2 separate regions of the Homo sapiens genome follow, and region 2 is linked to region 1. The links are contacts of gene promoters, found by promoter capture Hi-C in blood cells and fetal thymus (Javierre and others, 2016). All regions are on one chromosome and are shown on one strand. Each heading gives the region's core, a stretch centred on a gene start or on the middle of the fragment in contact. The rest is flanking DNA. Distances are from core to core; before and after follow the strand shown. Region 1 has its middle 10 kb from the start of LINC01260. Region 2 holds the start of YWHAB (tyrosine 3-monooxygenase/tryptophan 5-monooxygenase activation protein beta).

What was found. The method cuts DNA at HindIII sites, captures the fragments that hold promoters and counts their contacts. A CHiCAGO score of 5 or more calls a contact.
Region 2: the fragment with the promoter of YWHAB here is called in contact with a fragment that was not itself captured in region 1 in 2 of 17 cell types (M2 macrophages and M0 macrophages); the score reaches 6.5 in M2 macrophages.

What each region holds. Positions count from the first base shown.
Region 1 is chr20:44,679,563-44,683,934 of GRCh38, forward strand. No RefSeq gene overlaps it. Among named protein-coding and RNA genes, the nearest start is that of LINC01260, 10 kb to the left of the region's middle. RefSeq lists a silencer at 4,025-4,084. The HindIII fragment of the contact is 1,410 bases long and covers 2,343-3,752 here.
Region 2 is chr20:44,882,391-44,886,954 of GRCh38, forward strand. YWHAB (tyrosine 3-monooxygenase/tryptophan 5-monooxygenase activation protein beta) reads left to right here and starts at 3,315. Exons shown (of 6, transcript NM_139323.4): 1 at 3,315-3,496. RefSeq lists silencers at 2,939-2,998, 3,059-3,608 and an enhancer at 3,045-3,661. The HindIII fragment of the contact is 6,156 bases long and covers 1-4,564 here.

The sequences.
Region 1 (4,372 bases), core at 1,798-4,297:
ATCCTTTTTAAAAAAATACTTGATTATAACAGCTTTATTGAGATAAAATTCACATGCCATACAATTCACCCATTTAAAGTGTACAATTCAGGCAGGGTGTGGTGGCTCATGCCTGTAATCCTGGCACTTTGGGAGGCCGAGGCGGGCAGATCACTTGAGGTCAGGAGTTCGAGACCAGCCTGGCCAACATGGTGAAACCCCATCTCTACAAAAAATACACAAATTAGCTGGGCATGGTGGTGGGCGCCTGTAATCCCAGCTACTCGGGAGACTGCGGCAGGAGGATCGCTTGAACCCGGGAGATGGAGGTTGCAGTGAGCCAAGGTCATGCCACTACACTCTAGCCTGGGCAACAGAGCAAGACTCTGTCTCAAAAACAACAACAACAGATAAAGTGTACAATTCAATAGTTTTTTATATATTTGTCACAATCAATTTTGGCACTTTTTCATTATCCCCCACAGAAACCCTGTACCTATCAGCAGTCAGTCCTGCAGCCGACCCCCCTCTGGCCCCAGGTAACTGCCAATTACTTTCTGTCTCTATGGATTTGCTCTTTCTAGATGTTTCATAGAAAAGAAGTCATGCAACATGGGGTCTTTTTTTTTTTCTTTTGAGACAGGGTCTCCTTCTCTTGCCCAGGCTGGAGTGCAACAGTGCAATCACAGCTCACTGCAGCCTCGAACTCCAGGGCTCACATGACCCTCCCTGCTCAGCCTCCCAAGTAGCTGGGACCACAGTGCACCGCCATGCCCAGCAAATTTTTAAAAAATTGTTTGTAGAGATGGGTTCTCCCTATGTTGCCCAGGCTAGTCTAGAACTCCTGGGCTCAAGTGATCCTCCCACCCTGGCCTCCCAAAGTGCTGGGATTACAGGCATGAGCCAGTGCGTCCAGGCCTGTGGTCTTTTATGACTGGCTTTGTTCACTTTTTTCATCCCTGTCAGCAATGTATGAGAGTTCTGATTTCTCTGATTCCTTACCAACACTTATTATTGTTTGTCTTTTTTATTGTAGCCATCCTCGTGGGGGTGTGTAGTGGGATCTCATTGTGGCTTTGATTTGCATGGCCTTGACGGTTAATGTTTCTGGTTTTTTTCAGTGGAATCCCCTTTATAAATTCTGGGACACCCTATTCCCAGTGTGGAAACACTAACCTGTTCCAAAGAAAGAAAAAAAATTCTAGATGGAAAAAGATGTTCATTACTGCGACATAACATTTCTTAATACAAGTGACTCGTCTATAGCAGTAGGTAGTTCCTAATTTTTTTTTTTTTTTGAGACAGAGTCTTACTTTGTCACAGGCTGGAGTGCAGTGGCATGATCTCAGCTCACTGCAACCTCTGCCTCCCGGGTTCAAGTGATTCTCCTCCCTCAGCCTCCCAAGTAGCTGGGACTACAGGAACATACCACCACTCCCGGCTAATTTTTGTATTTTTAGTAGAGATGGGGTTTCACAATGTGGAAACACTAGGCCACATTGTGAAATGTGGCCAGGATGGCCTCCATCTCCTGACCTCATGATCTGCCCACCTCGGCCTCCCAAAGTGCTGGGATTACAGGCGTGAGCCACCGCGCCTGGCCTATTATCTTTAATAATTATAAATACTGGGCTGGGCGTGGTGGCTCATGCCTGTAATCTCAGCACTTTGGGAAGCCAAGGTGGGCAGATCACTGGAGGTCAGGAGTTCAAGACCAGCCTGGCCAACATGGTGAAAACTCATCTCTATTAAAAATACAAAAATTACCCTGTCATGGTGGTGCATGCCTGTAATCCCAGCTACTCAGAAGGCTTAGGCAGGACAATCGCTTAAACCTGGGAGGCGGAGGTTGCAGTGAGCCGAGATTGAGCCACTGCACTCCGGCCCAGGCGAGAGAGTCAGACTCCATCTCAAAATAATAATAATAATTATAATAACTATAAAGACCAGCTATCATATGGAAAATGTCCCTGATGTGTGAACAAATGCAGGATGGAAAAATACTCAGTGTAGTCATTTTAGCTAATATATATTTGTTAAAACATCCAAATATTTTTTTCGAGCTCGGCGCTGTGTGCCAAGCTCCATGCTGGCTCATGGACAAAGTCAGGAAAAGAACAAGCAAAAATGAAATTCCTTCTTGTGTCGGGAGTGGTGGGGTTTTGGGGGACAGGTATCTCCCCTTCCCCATGTTTTCTTCTCAAACTTCCTCCACTGTTGTTATATTACCTTTGCAGTGATAAAACCAAGAGAACAGAAGAAATACTTCTGGACCTAAGGATGAAAGAATGATGGGAGAAACATTTCTTGAGCCAGTCCCTTTCTGCGTTCTTATTTTGTGGAATCCGCACACATCCCCGAGAAGCTTAATAAAAAGGGCTACTATCATGACACTTACTGTGTGCCTTGCCGGTTCCACCTGTTAGGTGCCATTGTTGTCCCCATTTTACAGATGAGGAAACTGAGGCGGGGCAAGGAGATGCCCTTCTGCTTGGTGGTCTATCCTTCAGCATTACCCACACACATGCAGAGCTACATATAAGCTCACGTTCACACTCGGATTCACGTCTGCACCCATGGGCACATGGAGGATCGCACAAGCCACACTCAGACACACATGTGTGCTCACACACAGGGCTGCCCATGTCCACAGGTATGTGCATGGGGACACGCATGTATATATGTGCATATTCCCATATGCACACAGCACAGGTCAAACACTTTTGGACACACATCTGCCTGAGAATGGGAAAAGGGGTGCAAGATAAAGGGGCAAAGTCTGGCTTTTGCCTCCTCCCTGCACCTGCTACCAGCTGTGTGCAGGACTGGGTGGGGCAGAAATAGGTGGCTCTGAGCTCAGAGGGCAGAGGTGGCCTTGCACTAGAAATCCACCTGCCAAACTTCCAAATGGGCTACAGCGACTAAGGGGCCTCACCTGCTGGGCAAATCCCCCAGCTGGAGGGTGTGCTCCAGATCCTCCAGGGGTCCCCAGGGGGTTGAGAAGATGAGGGGCACACCCAGCAGCCCCTAAGGGAGGAAGCGTGGCCATACTGGCTAAGGGGGCGCACTCTTCTTGCAGGCCGCCTGATCAGATGCCTGTAAAATAAGACAGCTTTACAAAGAGGGTGTCGGAATGTGAGGAGGCAGAGGGACAGGCATGAGTAGAAAGACCTTCCTCAGGACCTGAAGTCCAATGATCCTGGTCCTGCGTCCCACTAGCTAGGTGATATTGAACAAGTCACATAACCTCTTTGAACCTCAATTTCCTCATTTGTAAACTTTGCACAAATCATTTCTTTGACTGCTAAACAAGTATGTTTTGAGGACCAACGACATGCCAGGTACGGTGCTGGGCACTGGGAAAACAGCAGCAAGCAACACAGACATGGGCTTGCCGTGTAGAGCCTGCAGAATTAGGGAAAGGATAAATGGAAACATCTCACACATAGTAAGTGCTCAGTTACGTTCCTCCTGGTCTCTCTTTTCTACCATTGTAAAGGCGATGCAATAACATAGAAAGTTGGGAGAATGGGGTGGCGGTTGCTGAGGGGGGAACTCTGTCATCCAGAATCCCACCACCCCAACACAATGACTAGCTTCATTTTTGCCAATTTCATCAGCTCATGCAGGGGTTGACCTGCTGTAGGGCACTCAAAATATTCAAACCAATTAATGCATTGCATTTGTGATCAGAAGAAAAAAGCTAATTACAATGTAACAGATTTACCTGATGCAAAGCAACGCAAGCATGGCCATCCCTCTGCATATATGGAAGCTTTTCCTTTTGGGGGAAACAGCAATATTTCCATTTTACGGAAAAAGAAATGGAGGCACAGAGAGGTCAAGGCACTTGCCCAAGGTCACACAGACAGAAATGCGAAGAGCAGCTCCAGAGGCCAGAACTCCTGCCCATCCTGTCCAGGACTGTGGGATGCATCCAGGGACGGACACTGGGGCTGTGGGCTGGATGACTTGGCTGCCTTTGCATTGATTGGAGCTGTTTAGGGAACCTACCCCAGCCACTAGCATCCAGTCCTAGAGACACAGAAAATTCACTGGCCAGCCTCACTTTTGAGCCCAGAAACCCCTTACCCTTCCTCCTGCCTCTTGAGAGGCCAGTGTTAGGTGTTAGCCGGGGTGCAAAGCTCTGGAAGGCAGGTTTCTGCTTTCTGCTGCCCTCCAGTGGGCAAAGAAAGCAAACCTCTGGATCCATCTGGAAGCAGGTAGCAGGTGTTGCCCAAGTCAGCTGCGGCTAATAGTAATAATAATGGCTGCCGCTCAATGAGCACTTACCACGTGCAGACGTTTTTACACCTAATCTAATGTAACCTAACCCCTTTAAGCAATTTAATTAACATTTAATTCCTCTCTCAAGGTAGGAATCACTTCCTAT
Region 2 (4,564 bases), core at 2,065-4,564, 200 kb after region 1:
GCTACTAGGGAGGCTGAGGTGGGAGAATCACTTGAACCCAGGAGGTCGAGGCTGCAGTGAGCTGTGATTGCACTACTGCACTCCAGCCTGGGTGACAGAGTGACACCCTGTCAAAAAAAAAAAAAAAGAAGGAAGGAAAGAAAGAAAGAAAGAAAGAAAGAAAGCGAGCAACATATTGTATGATGTAACTATATGACATTCTAGAAAAGGTAAAACTATAGTGTAAAAGGTCTGCGGTTGCCAAAGGTTGGGGTGAGGGGAGGGAGTGAGGGATGAAGAGTTGAAGCAAAGATTTTTAGGACAGTAAAACTTTTATTTATATACATGACATTATGCATGTGTCAAAACCTATAGAACTATGTACAACATAAAGAATGAACCCCAATGTAAACTACGGACTTTAGTTAATAATGATGTATTAATACTGGCTCATCAATTGCAACAAATGTACCACTCTAATACAAGATGTTAATAATAGGGGAAATTGTGTGGAGGAGGGAGAGGGAATGTGGGAACTCTGTAATATCTGGTCAATTTTTCTGTAAACCTAAAACTGTTCTAAAAAATTAAGTCTATTGGCCAGGCACAGTGGCTCACACCTGTAATCCCAGCACTTTGGGAGGCCATGGCAGGAGAATCACTTGAGGCCAGGAGTTTGAGCCCAGCCTGGGCAACATAATGAGACTCTGTCTCTACAAAAACATTTTTAAAAATTAAGTCTATAATTTGAAAAAAGATTCACTGCAGTATATAAGGCTCTAGTATCACTTCTTTAAGGAAATCTTTCCTGCTCTCCCATCATATTCCCAAGATGGGTTAGGTGCTCTTCTCCCAAGCTCCCATAATACCCTGCACATATATTTATTTCTATGGTTGCACCTACCACATTGTATTTTAACATTTATCTGTATCGCTGTCAGTTCATAGCTGTGGTTTGCTGACGCTTGGCCTAGAATGCAGAGATGGTGAAATAAGCTAATCCATTGAACCCTTTAACAGGCACCTAGGAATGCCTGACAAAGGGCACTTCTGTTCCCTCAATGCACTGTTGATGTCATTTGTGGTATAATCATTATTAGCCCTCTGGTCCATTAGGCTATTTTCTGGATGACGGCATAAGGCACAGTCTTGTGACATTAAAAGTTACTTAGCCTGAGTAGTCTCTAGATTACTGGTCTAGGGTCTGCCAAAGACGATCCTCATGGGGAAGTTTTTGCACTAACCTCTCCAGGATTCAAATCCAATGGTTTTGACCCAAAACCATGCTGTTTACGTTACACAACACGTTCTCAATCTTGTTCAACTTAAAAGGTGGCACAGTACAGGGGTCACTGGCACACATGCCTACATGACAGATAACATAAGTGACAAAAGCAGACTCAGGTCGAGAAGGGTCCCTGGCATTTGGGAAAGTCCATGCCCAGTCTAGAACAGGCAGCCACTCCTTGGCTTCAGCCAATTGTTGCCACACAGAAATGTGGACACAGTGTTACCAGACAAGGCAGAGAGGCAGATTTCTGTTCACACAGAAACTTTTCAGTTTAAAAAAGTGTTGGCAACTAAGTCAAACTGCTTAGAAATACTGGAGATGGCATATTGGGAGGGTAAGGAATCATCCAATTGAATTGGGGTATTTACGATGGGGGAGAAATAGCAGCTAAAGGATAAGGGCAGCTTTTGGAGAACCCTGATTGTCACACTCAAGGAACTTATATATTGTCATCTAGGTCTGAGTGCACACTAAATAATTTAAGCAAGAACAGGACACGATTAGAATGGTATTTTTAAAAGATCACTTGGCAGTTGACGGGCGAGGCTGAGACCAAATGGTGAATTAGAAGTCTGTCATTTAGCTAAGTAAGGGTAAAGGCAAGACGGCAAAGGCCTATTTACTTGGCTTTTTCTCCTACCCGACTGCAAACTCCAAGACAGCAGGGCCCCACCTGCCTTGTTCATTGCTGTGTCTCCAGCACTAAGCAAAAAGCCTGTTCAACATTTGTTGAAAGAATAAATGAACAGGAGAGAGGGAAGGCGAGAGGCATTTTGAAGGACTGAGTTTAAAAATCAACTACCTTGAAGCCGGTCGAGGTGGTTCATGTCTGTAATCCCAGCACTTTGGGAGGCTGAGGCGGGTGGATCACCTGAGGTCAGGAGTTTGAGACCAGCCCGGCCAATATGGCGAAGCCCCGTGTCTACTAAAAATACAAAAACTAGCCGAGAGTGGTGGCATGCACCTGTTATCCCAGCTACTCAGGAGGCTGAGGCAGGAGAATTGCTTGAACCTGGGAGGCAGAGATTGCAGTGAGCCAAGATTGTGACACTGCCTGGGCGACAGAAAGAGACTCTGTCTCAAAAACAGAAAACAAAACAAAACAAAACAAAACAAAATCAACTACCTTCAGAGGAGTAGAATGTTGGTAATTGTGAGAGCAGTCATGGAGGGGAGGGGAGCCATGGAGGCCTGTTTCCTTCCCTGAACTTCCTCAACGAGGGGGCATCTTAAAGAAGAAATCATGTACACAGATTTTTGTGGGTTTTTTTTGGAGACAGGGTCTCACTCTGTCTCCCAGGTTGGAGTGCAGTGGCATGACCATAGCTCACTGCAGCCTACAACTCCCGGCCTCAAGCAATCCTCTCACCTCAGCTTCCCAAAGTGCTGAGATTACAGGCGCGAACCACTGCGCTCGACCCTACACAGGTTTTTTAAAAAGACGTTTGTGCATTGGATTCCTGGCACTTCACGTGGCCTCTTCAGTCTACCAAAGAAGGAAAAGGTAAGTACCCTGAAGGATTGAAAGGATTAAATGAACATTGAGGGATGAGCAATTTCTGTTCTTCCCTGGCTCCAGCATTACCAAAGCACACAGTAAGAGGACTGACATCGGCCTCCGACCCAGTGAGGATTACTTTCGGGGTGGAGGGGGAACTGCTAAACCTCGAATCTCCGGGACTGGCCCTGGCGCGTTTCCAGTCCCAGCAGAAAGGGCAATCCCCATCCAGACCACACTCCTAGTCCTCCTTATTCCCACACAGCCCGTATCTTGACCACCCCCAGCTCCGCCCTCTCTCCTCCCACCTCCTTTTCCCGCTCCCCCGCCCCATTTCCTTCTTCTCCGCCCACCTCCTCCTGGGTCCCTCCCCCGGCCATCCGCCCTGCCCCGGCCCCTGCAACCCTGCCTTTCGCTCTTCTTCCTCCTCCCTTCCGTCTGCGCCCCTCCCGTGGGGCCGTGGCAACCCCGTGCCTCGCTTGCCCAATGAGAACACGGTTTGGGGCGGGGCGCGGCCAGGACCGGAGCGGAAGTGGCGATCGGAGCGGAAGTGGAGCTACCGCCACCGCCGCCGCCGATTCCGGAGCCGGGGTAGTCGCCGCCGCCGCCGCCGCTGCAGCCACTGCAGGCACCGCTGCCGCCGCCTGAGTAGTGGGCTTAGGAAGGAAGAGGTCATCTCGCTCGGAGCTTCGCTCGGAAGGGTCTTTGTTCCCTGCAGCCCTCCCACGGTGAGTGCGGCGCGGGGTCCGACCGGGGCCCCCGGGGGCCCAAACTCGAAGCCCCTCTCTGGCTGCTGCGACGACGGCGGCCCAGTGGGTGGGCCCCGTGGGGTAGCGGCGCGCTGCCTCTTTCGCTCCGCGCGGCCGCCGGCGGCGAGGCCAGACCTCGCAGCGGCCCCTCCCTGTTTCCGGGGCCGGGCCCTTTACCTCTTGGAGAGGCTCGGGCCGCCTGAGGTCCTGCCGGCCGGGCGGGGTGCAACTCCGTACTGTGCCGTAAGGGACAGCGGAGCCGGGGATCCCGGACCCTCCCTCACTATCTGCTTCGGGCCCCACGCGACCCCTCCCTGCGTCTTGGTCGGCAAGAACGTCCCCTTCAGCCCTGTCACCTCTGCTCCGTGCTTTCTGGTTTCCAGAAATTAAAATTTAATCAAACGCGGATGAGTTTTCTAGCCCCAGTCCCCGTGTTTGGCTCCTCCTGGATGAGTAAGGGGTTTAACCTTGGGAGACAGCAGTGGGGGAACCCCCTCCCATTTTGCAGTAAAACCATTTCATCATCCTTCACTGGTTATGGAGCCTGGCAGGACCCAAGATTCCCTAGGAAGGGAATTGGGTTTGAATCAAGAAAATCTGTTTGTTGGAGCCGGTTACTGAGTCAGGCCGGATCCCCAGGAAAAAATATCAGGGGGTGAGAATCGGAGTATTTTCTCACAGTATTTACCGTCATTTAATGCCAGATTCTTTTGTGTCTTTACCCCAAATTCCCCCATATTGTGTGTTAGCACGTTTTTCGGTCTGAAATTTGCCCGGTGGCTTCCTGGTCGGGGGGTGGGGAGCGGAGGGAAGAAGAGGTGGGAAGGTGAGTGCATCTTTGCCGCAAATGGAGAACTCCCATATAATGGGGTTTTCAGAGGTGGCAGCCTTGGTAAGCAATTTGCCAACCTTTCTGTAAAATACATGTTTCTTGTCGTTGCCTTCATTGCATTTCTCTTTGGTAAGGCTAGATAGCATCAGGTCCTGATTTTGCTTGCCCTGTGTGGGAGATGGAATTTGGCAAGATGATGCTATGAACATAAAATC